Linked DNA regions of Homo sapiens: region 2 is linked to region 1. Evidence: promoter capture Hi-C in 16 types of primary human blood cells and fetal thymus (Javierre and others, 2016). All regions are on one chromosome and are shown on one strand. Each heading gives the region's core, a stretch centred on a gene start or on the middle of the fragment in contact. The rest is flanking DNA. Distances are from core to core; before and after follow the strand shown. Region 1 holds the start of OR52N4 (olfactory receptor family 52 subfamily N member 4). Region 2 holds the start of OR51E2 (olfactory receptor family 51 subfamily E member 2).

Evidence for each region. Contacts are between HindIII fragments. The CHiCAGO score rates a contact against its expected background, and 5 or more counts as called.
Region 2: a contact is called between the fragment with the promoter of OR51E2 here and the fragment with the promoter of OR52N4 in region 1, in 1 of 17 cell types (M0 macrophages). The highest score is 5.6, in M0 macrophages.

What each region holds. Positions count from the first base shown.
Region 1 is chr11:5,748,909-5,755,516 of GRCh38, forward strand. OR52N4 (olfactory receptor family 52 subfamily N member 4) reads left to right here and starts at 5,335. Exons shown (of 2, transcript NM_001005175.5): 1 at 5,335-5,397; 2 at 5,785-6,608. The coding sequence starts at 5,833. The HindIII fragment of the contact is 4,248 bases long and covers 5,262-6,608 here.
Region 2 is chr11:4,692,880-4,699,353 of GRCh38, forward strand. It overlaps OR51E2 (olfactory receptor family 51 subfamily E member 2), which reads right to left and starts at 4,974. Exons shown (of 2, transcript NM_030774.4): 1 at 4,774-4,974. OR51C1 (olfactory receptor family 51 subfamily C member 1) reads right to left here and starts at 4,974. Exons shown (of 2, transcript NM_001396051.1): 1 at 4,774-4,974. The coding sequence starts at 4,782. The HindIII fragment of the contact is 1,338 bases long and covers 3,751-5,088 here.

The DNA of each region.
Region 1 (6,608 bases), core at 4,085-6,584:
CTTATATACGTATCATTATTTGGACACTGAGAATGGAAAGTTCTTGTTCTTTCTCCTCTTCCCATAGAGGTTATCTTGATTCTCACACCAACATCTGTGTCTCTGAGATTCTTAAATATCCCCTTGGGACACATAACATGTATTTTTTTTAAGGCTCAGTTCAATAGTTCAGACATAAAGGAATTTATAGGCTGATAGCTGTGGATACATATATTAATTCTAGGATTGTGAATTTTTTTTGACCAAGATTGTTAACACCTGGAGTAGATTGCGTTTACAGATCACTGTTCTGCTATCCAGAAACGAAGGTACTAAAAATATGCAAAAGAGGGGATAGTGACAAAATTTATTTTCTGTAGTCAGCAAGATAAAGTGAAGAGGAGCTTTGGGTATATCTCAGTTGTTTATCATTTATCCAGCTAAGTCATTGATTCCAATCACATAGTTGGAAGGAAGAAGCATTGTGTGAGGTTGAGTTCTTTTGGAAAACATTTATTTTCCCAAATCAAGCATTAAAATTCAGTGTGAATTATAATGATTATGATTATCTGTGTATTTCTCTGTTTAAATGGGAATCCTTTTTTACTAGTGGTGGAAGTCAAGTGTGGATTACCCCCACAATAAGGAGAAATGAAAGACTAGCTAGAGAATATTTACCCATTACTCTTGCTTCTTACTTGCTCTCCTTTACTTCCCCCAAACCATAGTCTAATTTTCCTTGGTTATTTCCTGGAAAGACTGAGATAGGACTTTTGTTTCATGTGTTTGCAGTAGCAAAATCTAATCCACACGGAGCAAGCAACCCTCATATGAGAAGTTGGGTCTACTAGATTGGAGATGGTTGAACGAAAACAAAACAAAACAAAACAAATTTATTGGCCTACAGAGTTTAAGAATGAGGTTAGATAGAAGATAACATGTATCAATATTACTTTTCCAATGACTCTTTCCACACCCCAGCATAGCAAAGTCAAATTTCTTTGCAGAAGAAATTAAACTTTGATGTGTACAAACTATTTTAAATGTTTTAGGAAGAAAATTGCATACGTTTGTACTTATTAATAATACTTAGATAGTTATGTAGTTCTTGGAGAGCTTTGTAAATGTGTTGAAGATGGGACCTAAATTGTTGTGTAAGCATAAAACCAGTTTTAGTGACTAAAGGTATGCCGAAAACAAGAAAATATAGGAAATACTAATAAAATATTTATCTAGTATTTAGATACAAGTGTGCATGTAATCTCAGAAGCAAATTATTCTATTTTCGGTTTAGGAGATATTTATGCTTCCCCTAATTTCTCTACCTACTTCTAACACATGGATACTTATTTCACATGCAGTGGAACCATGAACACATACTTGGATATGTGCAGGTTCAATACAGATCTACAAGTATATTTTTCTCCACCCAGGTAATTGTTCTTTCCACACATAATTCATTAAGACATTAAAAATAGCATTTTCCATTACTTGAAATGGTCACTTTAACTCCAAGAAAAGCTGCAAAAGTGCATCCTGAGCTGCTATTTACAAAGCAATGTATAGCCCAAAACAAGCACTGAGCATCACATTTAATAAGACACTGTTCAATATATTAAAGTGAGATGGAGAAAAGAATCGTGACACTATTGAATAGTTTATACTAAATTTTTATAAATTATTGAAAAAGTAGTTTTATAAATGGATTATTGCCACTGTCACTGTCAGTTATTTTGCTTAATAATATATTGTAAAACATCTGAAAAATGAGGTATATGTAAAAAATCTGAAAAATATAATAGTGACTACAAATATAAAATATAAATTCATAGTTTATAAATTCTGTCTGAAAGGCAGAATCCTGTAATTTTGATGTTCATAGAAAAACATTTCATGTATTGAAGACTATCTTTTATGCTTTTACAAAATAATAATTAACATACTTCTGAAAATTCCAAAGCTAAAATTTCAATTTTTGAACCATTCACTTACCTTAATTAAAAATTTAAAAATGAGTTTATAAGCTGCTATGTAATGTAAGTGTAACTTTGGGAGGTCCTCATATTAACATTGTCCCTCCATATCAACAAAGTGAGAATGTGAATTTAAGTGCTTTTCGTTATTTGTGTTATAGAAAAACCTTATCAAACTTGGAAAAAAAACAATTTGGTACAATTACCTTTAATTACACAATGCTAAGCGTTTTGTCTTCTCAAAGTGATCTTGACTTGAGTGTTTTAGCTTTGAATTCTTTTTTCTAGTATTAGTATATCCTAAGTATGAGGTATACTGTTTATCTAAAAATATTATGTTTGTATATATTTTTAAACCTTTGTGTATAATTTTCATTCTGATGAAATCTTATACTGCATATATAATTTTTAAAAATTAGTTGGAATTATTTCAACTTGATGGGAAGTTTAAATTATTTTTATATCCAAAACCAATGTTTGTTCTGCCTTTGTCATCTTTTTTTTTCCACTTTGTATTCTCTGTTTCTCTACTTTATGAGAGAGATGCCTTATGTTGTTTAGCTTTTCTAGTAATCTTAAGTAAAACTTTCTCTTTTTTTTCCTTCTAGTGGTTTCTTTTATACATTCCAAGTAATATTAGGTTGGTGCAAAAGGAATTGTGGCTTTGCCATTACTTTTAATGGTAAAAACCGCAATTATGTTTGCACCAATCTAATAATACTTAGATTATAATTTAATAATTATCAAAATAAAGTGTTTCGGGTGAGTCATTCACTTTTTCATTTACTTATTTGTTTATTTATTTTAAAATTGACATTTATTGAGTATCTAATATGAGAGATTTGATTTGCTCGGCTCTGAGGATGCTTTACCAGACACTGTCCTTACATCGGTGATTTCACTGAATTTTGGAGAATTCCTAAATATAAGTTGATTTTCATAATATCATGAGGGAAATATTATTAAAGAGAATAATTGTTTGAACAAATCAATTTCTTACCCCTAGTCAAGGCTATTGGTAGCTACATTATCTTAAAATAATTTAAAGGATGGGTCGCTATCATGTCCAAAGGACATTTGAGACCTCCTGATGATGGTTCTGCTTGAAGAATGTATAGGGATTAGCTACATTTGAGGGGAGTGGGCAAAGGGAGCACCAAGGAGATAGAGGTTTGCCTATCACAAAGCTGAGAATGTCAGTGCGATATGAGTAGGAAACAGCAAACAGCAACAGAAGAAAATGCTGTTCCTACCACTTTGACCTGTCAGAATTCTAATCATGCTCCAGGTCTGGAAGCATCTGTCCTCTTCTCTAGGAGCATCTCCTGAGGCTAGGTTAGACACACAGGTGCTCCTATGACACCCAGTATAACTCTGACATTTTGTAATGACTTGAGTACATATCTTTGAGGAGCATGCCTATTAACAAGTTTAACCTGTGTTTTTCTACTATTTTCAAAACAAGTTGCCTTTTGATAAATCTGATCTGTCCTCTTCATCTTACCCAATAAGGCAGAACATGTGACTGTACTTCCTATCAGATGCTAATCTTAAAACAGTGTATTTTATTAATGGAGGTTAGGATGAATACCTCCTCTGATGGGGCACAAAAGAGAGTTCATTTGGTGGCACTCATGATTCCTATGGTGTTAATTTTTGTAAGCATTGCCAAAATGGCTGCCAGCCTGAGTAGAAAATACAAATATGGGTATTGAGCACTTAAAATGTGGTAGCATGTTTTAACATATTACGTCCTTTAATCCTCTTGGCAATTTAATTTTTGTTATTATAAATTCTAACATACATATGCAATTTTACAATTAATCCAATTACATGTTGATTGATTTTTACAACCTGAATCTTGTATATCTCACAACCAAATCAAGTAAGGGAATATGACCAGCAACTAACAGGACCCTTCTACCACATACTGCCTTTCAGTTATCACTCTCTCTCACTTTTTAAAAAGATTTTTCTATTTCTAATAGCACAGAATAATTTGATCCGTTTTTGTATTTCATTTAAAGATCACAAGATGTTACATCTATTTTAAGTCTTTCTAAAAAAAATTAACACATATTGTGAGATTCGTCTATATTATGCATATAGTCATAGATTGTTTATTCTTATTGTTACGTGGTATTTCATTGTGGGAATGTACCAAAATTTATTTACCCATTTGATGTTGATGAACATTTAGGTTTTTTCCAGTTTTAGGCTATACTACAAATCATGTTTCAATAAGCATTCTAATTGATGTATTCTAGTAAATATATATACATAGTTTTGTTGGAAATGGCAATGGTGGTCATGTGTATGTTTATCATTATGAGATATCTAATAAAGAGTTGTTCTAATTTACATGTCTACCAGCAGTAAATGAGAGTTCCAGTTGTTCTACATCTTTGCCAATGCTTGGTATTTTTAGTTCTTTTCATTTTAGCTGTCCTGTTTGGTATGTCACTACATACCAAAAAAAGGTGCTTTGTCATGAGAGATACAATTTTTACTTATTTTTCTGATTAATATAAAAGTTTGTGCCTATTTACCTGTTCATTGGCAATTTTATTTCTCTTTTGAAGTGTATGTTTCTTCCTGCAACTTTTTCTTACTGATGTTGTTGAAGTACTTTATATATTTTCTGTATGTATGCATTTGGATATCTTCTAGTTTGCGTTGACTAGATACATAAAGAACAAGAAAGATATCTTGAAAAGTGAAAAAATTGAATCAAAACTTCATTGACTTTTTTAATTTTAAATTTTTGTGGGCACATAGTAGGTGTATATATTTATGGGTGTATGAGATATTTTGATAGAAGCATACAATGTGTAATAATCCCTTTTAAAGGGCCGGGCACAGTGGCTCATGCCTGTAATCCCAGCACTTTGGGAGCCTGATGTGGGTGGATTACCTGAGGTCAGGAGTTGGAGACCAACCTGACCAATATAGTGAAACCCCATCTCTGCTAAAAATACAAAAATTAGCTGGGCGTGGTGGCATGTGCCTGTAGTCGCAGCTACTCGGGAGGCTAAGACAGGAGAATTGCTTGAATCCGGGAGGTGGAGGTTGCAGCCAAGATTGCGCCACTGCACTCCAGCCTGGGCAACAAAGCAAGACTCTGCCTCAAAAAAAAAAAAAAAAAAAAAAAAAAATCCCAGTAAAGTAAATAGGGGTATCCATCATCTCAAACATTTATCCTTTGTGTTACAGACAACCCAATTATATTATTTTAGTTATTTTAAAATATACAATTAAATTATTATTGAGTATAGACACCCAATAAATTTACTAATTTTTGAGACCCCAAGCTTCATTGAGTAATAATTTAATTAAAATTTCAAAATTCTTTGAACAGTGCCTGAGTACCCAAGAATAAATATCAGTCAGTCATTAAGAATAAAAATTAAAAAGTCAACATCTCATCTCTCAGATCATCAGTGAGGTAATCAAATGACTCTTCTTTAAAATTATATCTATATTGAGATGAGTATAGTTATAGTTAAGTAAGATATTCTAATAAAAATACCATTTGAAAAGTCAGAATTATACTTGATTATAAATCTATGAGATTGGGAATATGTCTTTTTATAAAATAATTGATGTTTGATTGGCATCTGTGTTGAAAACTTAGACTGCTCAATAAGAATTTTTTACTGAATCAATTAATTAATCAATCAATAAAACTAAACAGACAAACAAAATTATTTCTTGGCACTCAGAAATTTGGTTGTTGGACCATTAAAATGCATTATGGAATTTTTAAAAGTTGGGGGAGAGGGAGACAGTAAAAATAACCTATATTTTCTCTTGTTTTTTTTTTTAACTCTAGGAAAGCCCAGACAAATTTTGAGCTATTTCATAACCTACCAGACTTATCATGCTAACACTGAATAAAACAGACCTAATACCAGCTTCATTTATTCTGAATGGAGTCCCAGGACTGGAAGACACACAACTCTGGATTTCCTTCCCATTCTGCTCTATGTATGTTGTGGCTATGGTAGGGAATTGTGGACTCCTCTACCTCATTCACTATGAGGATGCCCTGCACAAACCCATGTACTACTTCTTGGCCATGCTTTCCTTTACTGACCTTGTTATGTGCTCTAGTACAATCCCTAAAGCCCTCTGCATCTTCTGGTTTCATCTCAAGGACATTGGATTTGATGAATGCCTTGTCCAGATGTTCTTCACCCACACCTTCACAGGGATGGAGTCTGGGGTGCTTATGCTTATGGCCCTGGATCGCTATGTGGCCATCTGCTACCCCTTACGCTATTCAACTATCCTCACCAATCCTGTAATTGCAAAGGTTGGGACTGCCACCTTCCTGAGAGGGGTATTACTCATTATTCCCTTTACTTTCCTCACCAAGCTCCTGCCCTACTGCAGAGGCAATATACTTCCCCATACCTACTGTGACCACATGTCTGTAGCCAAATTGTCCTGTGGTAATGTCAAGGTCAATGCCATCTATGGTCTGATGGTTGCCCTCCTGATTTGGGGCTTTGACATACTGTGTATCACCAACTCCTATACCATGATTCTCCGGGCAGTGGTCAGCCTCTCCTCAGCAGATGCTCGGCAGAAGGCCTTTAATACCTGCACTGCCCACATTTGTGCCATTGTTTTCTCCTATACTCCAGCTTTCTT
Region 2 (6,474 bases), core at 3,724-6,223, 1.1 Mb before region 1:
TTTAACTAAAATTAACAGAAAACTAGATGAAAAACAAGAAATTATAGATTACACGATTTGGCCAAATAATGAAACTATAGCTTTAGATTCTGAAATTTACAGTAATGACAGTGTCCTCAGGCGAGTGATGAAAATATCTAAAATGTATGATCAAACCTCTTAGAGAAATAAGAATTATAGTTAATGTATAGTATATTTCAAAAAAACTAAAAGAGAGAATTTTAAATGTTCACAGCACAAAGAAATGATAAATATTTGAGGTGATGGATATGATAATTAGCTTGATTTGGTCATTCCACAATGCATACATGTATAACAACATCACATTTTACCCCACAAATATATACCATATTATTTGTCAACTAGAAATAAGATAAAATGATTTTGAAAAACCAAAACACACTAAAAAGGAATTACCAGAAAGAGAGCATTCAGTAGGTTTGTAGTATTTGGAGAAGGCTTTCTAGAAAAAGCAGTGCTTGAAAGATTTCTGTGTTTTATGTAAGTTGAGACGAAGAATTCCCAGGCTTTCAGAACGGCATGTGTAAAAGTGTTGAGCAGGCTGGGCGCGGTGGCTCACGCCTGTAGTCCCAGCACTTTGGGAGGCCGAGGTGGGCGGATCACGAGGTCAGGAGATCGAGACCATCCTGGCTAACATGGTGAAACCTCGTCTCTACTAAAAATACAAAAAATTAGCCGGGCGTGGTGGCGGGCGCCTGTAGTTCCAGCTACTGGGGAGGCTGAGGCAGGAGAATGGAGTGAACCTGGAAGGCGGAGCTTCCAGGTGAACCGAGATGGCGCCATTGCACTCCAACCTGGGCGACAGAGCGAGACTCCGTTTCAAAAAACAAACAAACAAACAAAAAACTGTTGAGCAACAGTGCACTTGTAACACTTCTCTTGATCTTGCTTTACTATCTCAGGGACATTAACTGAGTATCTGGATCTTACATAGTGCTATTTTAGAAGCTAAAGGACAACACAAATAAAACCCCACTTAGAGAGTTTATAATCCAGTGAGGCAGAAAGAGCAGAACCGTTTTTCAATAATTTCAATATCTCATATACAGCGATGAATAATAAAAATGGTTATGAAAGTACAGAGGGGCTCCATTTATGTCAATTAATTCTGGCTTTCATGATTTTTAGTTCCTACGCAATATCTGAGTTGTAATTTTTGTCATTGTGTTGTAGGACATTTTATGTAACCACTTAAAAAAATTAAATTGCTATTTGAATAATTTCTCTTTCATCCTAACTTCTTCATATCTCCCATTACCTCATTTCAACAATTTATTCATTGCCTATTTTCATTCTTCTTGGTAGTTTTTTTCCTCCTTCTTGCCAAGAGATCATAAACAAAACAAAAGAAAACCATAGTGTATATATTTTGACCTGATCTGTGTTGGGCCTAGCAAAAAAAAAATGACTTCTCTCCTTTCCATCACTTTACAAGCATATCTTCCTGCATCCTTCCTACGTTCACGCTGGGCTCAGAGACAGAGGGTACCTTATTCTTTTTCCTAGCCAATAACTCCACTTTAGCTCCTATCAACCAGAAACACTTAGTTCAGTTCAAACTGAACTAAACTATACATATATATACGTGTATATATATATATACACACACATATATATATATACACACACACATATATACGTATATATATATACACACACACATACATATATATATACACACACACACACACACACACACATATGCAGGGAGCTGAGCTTGCTGTGTCAAGAGTCTAGGGACTCTTACTGAAAATAAAAAATGACTAATTTTAAATATCTACTACATGCCAGACAGCGTCTATCAGCAGTAACAGAAACAAACAGATAAATGCTACTAGTTGTAGAGTGTATAAGGATAGGATGTATCTAATTGATAAGGCAGAAGAGATAATAGTGTGGAGTGGCAGATTTGGAGTGTGTGCATACATGAATGTGTCTGTGTGTGTCAAGAAGAACTAGTTCCAAGAATGTTAACAGAATGTATGCTTTATAACTGTGTGAAGTTTTGATGGGTAAATGTGAGTTTATAAGGATGAAAAACAGGGGAAGTGTGCTTTTGCAGTGCCGTTGATAAAATGAGGAGAGACATGAATGAAAGAATAACATAAGCCAGTTTGTTGGATAACTACAAGAGAAGGGGTATATCGAAGTCTTAAATGTGAGGCTAGGTGCTGTGGGAAATGAAGCTAGAGAAAGCACCAGAGGTCAAATCATGAAAATCTTGAATTCCATGGACAGTGTAATGAACTTAAATTTTTGCAGAGCATCAAGAGCCAGACATTTCTAACATTTTATTCACCTTTTATTGACCACTGGAAGCAAGGAGCTTTGCTTTTAATAAATAAATCATTTTCCATCTCTTCTCATTTAATGCCAACAAAATTCCTTTCCCTCTTTAGTATCTTGTTTAGTGCCATTGGTTGCTTTTTTGAAGTCTGCAATACTCAAGTTTTACTCTAACTCAACAATAAAAGCTTCCCACAGTTTTGTATAGATATTTCCAAACAATTCATTTCAACCAGGATATATTGAATAGTTTTCATAATTAGCCTTGTGCTTTGATAGTGAGGGATACAAGACATAAGCCCTGTTTCTCTCTCAATTTCCTGCTGTATCTTTTATAAGGATAAAAATTCCTTTGGAGAACAGTCTGCTTTTGTTTATTATTCCTTCACCTTCAGTAACAATCTGAATTCTTTCCCTAATGACTCTGAAAATCCTCCAAATGATGTCACCCGTGATTTTCTACATGCCAAGTCCAAAAGTTTAATCTCAGATTTGTTTTTCTCTCCCTCATCTCAACTTTCAGCAATGTTTACCTCCTCCTCCTTGAAACTTTCTCCTTCATTAGCTTCAGTGATGGTTATTCTGTGAGGTTTTTTTTTTTCCTGTTTGTTAAACAATGGTTTTGTTCTCTGCCTTATAAATTGTGGGATTCTAGAGGAGTCTGCTTTTCTCCCAAGAAGTACCTCTTCTTTTCTTGCTTTTCATATGCTCTCCTTGAGATATCTTGGTTATTCTCATGGCTTTAAATAGCACTTATATCCAGAAGACTCATAAATCTGCAATCTAATTATGGCATCTCCAGAGTTCTGTATTTTAAAAGTTAGCAGAATCTTTAACGCTGTGGCAAAGTTTCTGGTTTTAAGCGTAAAGGTAGTAATGAGACATGAAAATACAGTGAAGCAATCAAACCTGTAATTTAGAAAAATAATTGACAGCATTTTGGAGAACAAAGCTCCTTGCTGCATGTGGTGAATAAAAAGTAAATAAAATACTGTGGCTACCCCTGAGGGACATCTCTACCCATCATCACTCAGTTACTTCAACTTCTATATGAGACAAATGGAACTCATTCTCTCGTCCCCTCCAAACCTGGCTCTTCCTCCTGCTTCATTTATCAGCAAACGACATCGAACTCTAGTAAATCATTGAATTAAAATTACTACCCACCACACACACACACATGTGTGCACACACATACCCTCCTCTTTCTCTCTCTCATCCCTTACATATAAAGATTAGTTTTTAACTGATTCTACTCCTGAAATGTAAAAGATGAGAACCTCGGGAGGTCTATATAAGAAGGCCAAGCAATTGTTAGTAGTGGGTATTTGCAGCTATTATTTCATTGCATTTTTCTTACATTGAAAAAATCTTAAGTGTTTATATTCAAGACAAGAGGGGGACTAATGAATATCCTTAGAAGGAGGCACTAAATTTCCCCCAAGCTTCTCTTTTGTGCTGCCTTCACTCTAGAATCTTTCCGACCCATCCTCTCCAATCCATATATACTTTCATTTTCTCTCTTGTGAAATAAGCTATATTCTCTCAACTAATTTTTCTGCCCACTCGGATTACAATGATGCTCCTCTTTCATTGCACTATTATAAGCTATAGCTTGTGGCTGTCTTAATCTGCTGAACTAGACCTTATAGTGTCATCAGTATTCTCCATGCTATTGTCAATGGTATGGCTATCATGTGTGACTGACCTGGGTTCAGATTCTTGCTCAAACACTAACTAGTTTTGAGACCATCTACACCATTAATAAAAATATTACTCATAGAAATAGCTACCATTTACTGGACACGTGTTCTGTGAACATTATTGTCCTCAGTGCTTTATAAGCATTATTTTAATTCTTACTATGTCATCATGTGACAAGTATTATTAGATTCACTTTAAATTCATTTTTCTGGTAAAGACACTGAGTATCAGAAGTCTGAAACATATTTGAAATCACATACAACTGGTGAAAGTCAGAGCTGAATTTTTAACTCAGGTCTTTTTAATTCCAAAGCTCGTGCTCTCAAAAACAATTGTTTTACTGAAATCTACAAGTAATATAAACTTTCTGTGACCCAGTTTCCTCATCTATAAGACAGGATATGCGCTGTGTCTAATACCAGTAGCTGGCAGGCAATGCGTTCGAAATTGGTAACTTTTCATTTTTAGTAATAGTTATTGGGCATAGAAATGAGATTCACTGACTGTGATAAATATATCAGCACACTGATTAAACCATTTGACTAAAAACAAGTTATCTAACCTATATCAGGCAGAACGAAATACCCATTCTCTACGTATTTCCTGGGAATAAATAATTCTGAAATTCTACCGTCCTCCTCAGCCCACCATACCAACATCTAATCTAATTCTGCACATTGTGAGGAAATTACTCCCTGTGGGTGAGAAAGTCCAATTCATCTAGAGTCAAGCATTTTCATTGAACAAAACAGTTTTACTTACAGAGCCCATACAGCAGTTCGGCCTGTTCCTTTCAGGCTGACTCAGAAGGCTGAGGAGGCTTTAGATTCCAGGGGAGGGCCGAGCTTGCAAATATGAGGAGACTTATTCCAGCCTGACTGGAGACAGGCACAGAGCTGAAAGGCCAATTCCTGGTGGTGGTGCTAACTCACTGTGTCTTCAGGGTGTGGAGATTCCCAGAAGACTTCTTTTGCCTCATACAGTCCTTTTATATCTGTTCCATTATGCAATTACTTACGGTGGCTATGTGCTTTATGGGCTGATGTAACCTTTTTTTCATGTGTCATTTCACTCAAAAGCTTTTTTATTTAACAGCTTTATTGTTATATCATTCACATACTATAAAATTCACCCATTTATAGTGTATGATTCAATTTTTTTTAGTAAAGTCACAGAACTGTGCAAGAACCATCATCACAATTCAATTTTAGAACATTTTTTATTACCCTTAAAAGGAACCTCATAATCACTAGCAGTCACTCTGAAGGAGATTTTAAAAAACGAAATATTGTAGCAAATTGCTAAATGACATCTCCCATTATGAGTGAGAGTCCAACTCCACCCCTTAACTCCTCAGTATCTATGATTATTCACAGCAGTATGGTTTCATTAGCCCACCTGTGGTTCTTTGCAGCAGCAGTCTTTCTCTTACAGATAAAAAATAATTCATTTACTCATCCATACATATATCCAGTAAATATTTCATAAGAATGTCCCATATTCTAAACATTATACTCAGTGATAGAGTTTTTTTTTTTAAGAATACACCATAATTCTTACTGTTTAGGATTTTAGTGTAGAAGATAGACAGGTTAACCAATAATTACATGTTAACCAATGATAAGGTTATCCTAGAGGCATGAACCAAATGCTTGGTGAATACAGTAGGTAAAAATCTTGGTTCACAACTTACTTGTGTATAAAATACGGTTTCATTTACTTTTTTATAATTTGACCTATTTCGTATTTTGAAGTCCCAACCTACCAGGTTGAAGAGAATTAGTCACAATAATTTGGGGTTCTCTCTACTTATAGTCAAATTTTGAAAATCTTGTATTATACCAAGAAAAATTGCAGGTAGGTGGGTGATTGACTTGGCCAATGATGTCACCTTCTGTCAGTTTACTATCACTCTCATTAGTCTTTAATAAATAGAATGCATAGATTGCTATAAGTTGTCCATCTTTTCTCCTTATGGCCTCTTTAGATCCTTAGATATTCCCACCAATTTGGACCACACTTGGGCATATGGGTCTTTGATTCATTCTCAGTTTCTGTCTCTTACACCCTGCATTTAATCCATTGGTAAATTATGTCAATCTCTTTGAAAAATACAATCAGAAATTGATCACTGTTTATCATCTCCAGAAATGTCACCTTTATTTAAGTCACAATTATCTCTCACTTGGGTAACTTCAGTAGTTTCCTAACCATTCTCCCTGCTTCCGATATTATCTCCTCTCCACTATCAAATCTGTTTCACTACTGAAAATGTCATGGCCTGAGATATTTTCTTCTTCATAATGTAATAAAAACAATAAATAACAAGAACAATAATATTTTATTATGCATTCTACATCCATGATACTAGGCCAAGTGTTTGTGGTAGACAGGATAATGGCCCCTAAAGATACCTATGTCTTAATGCCTGGAACCTGTGAATATGTCACCTTACATTGCAAA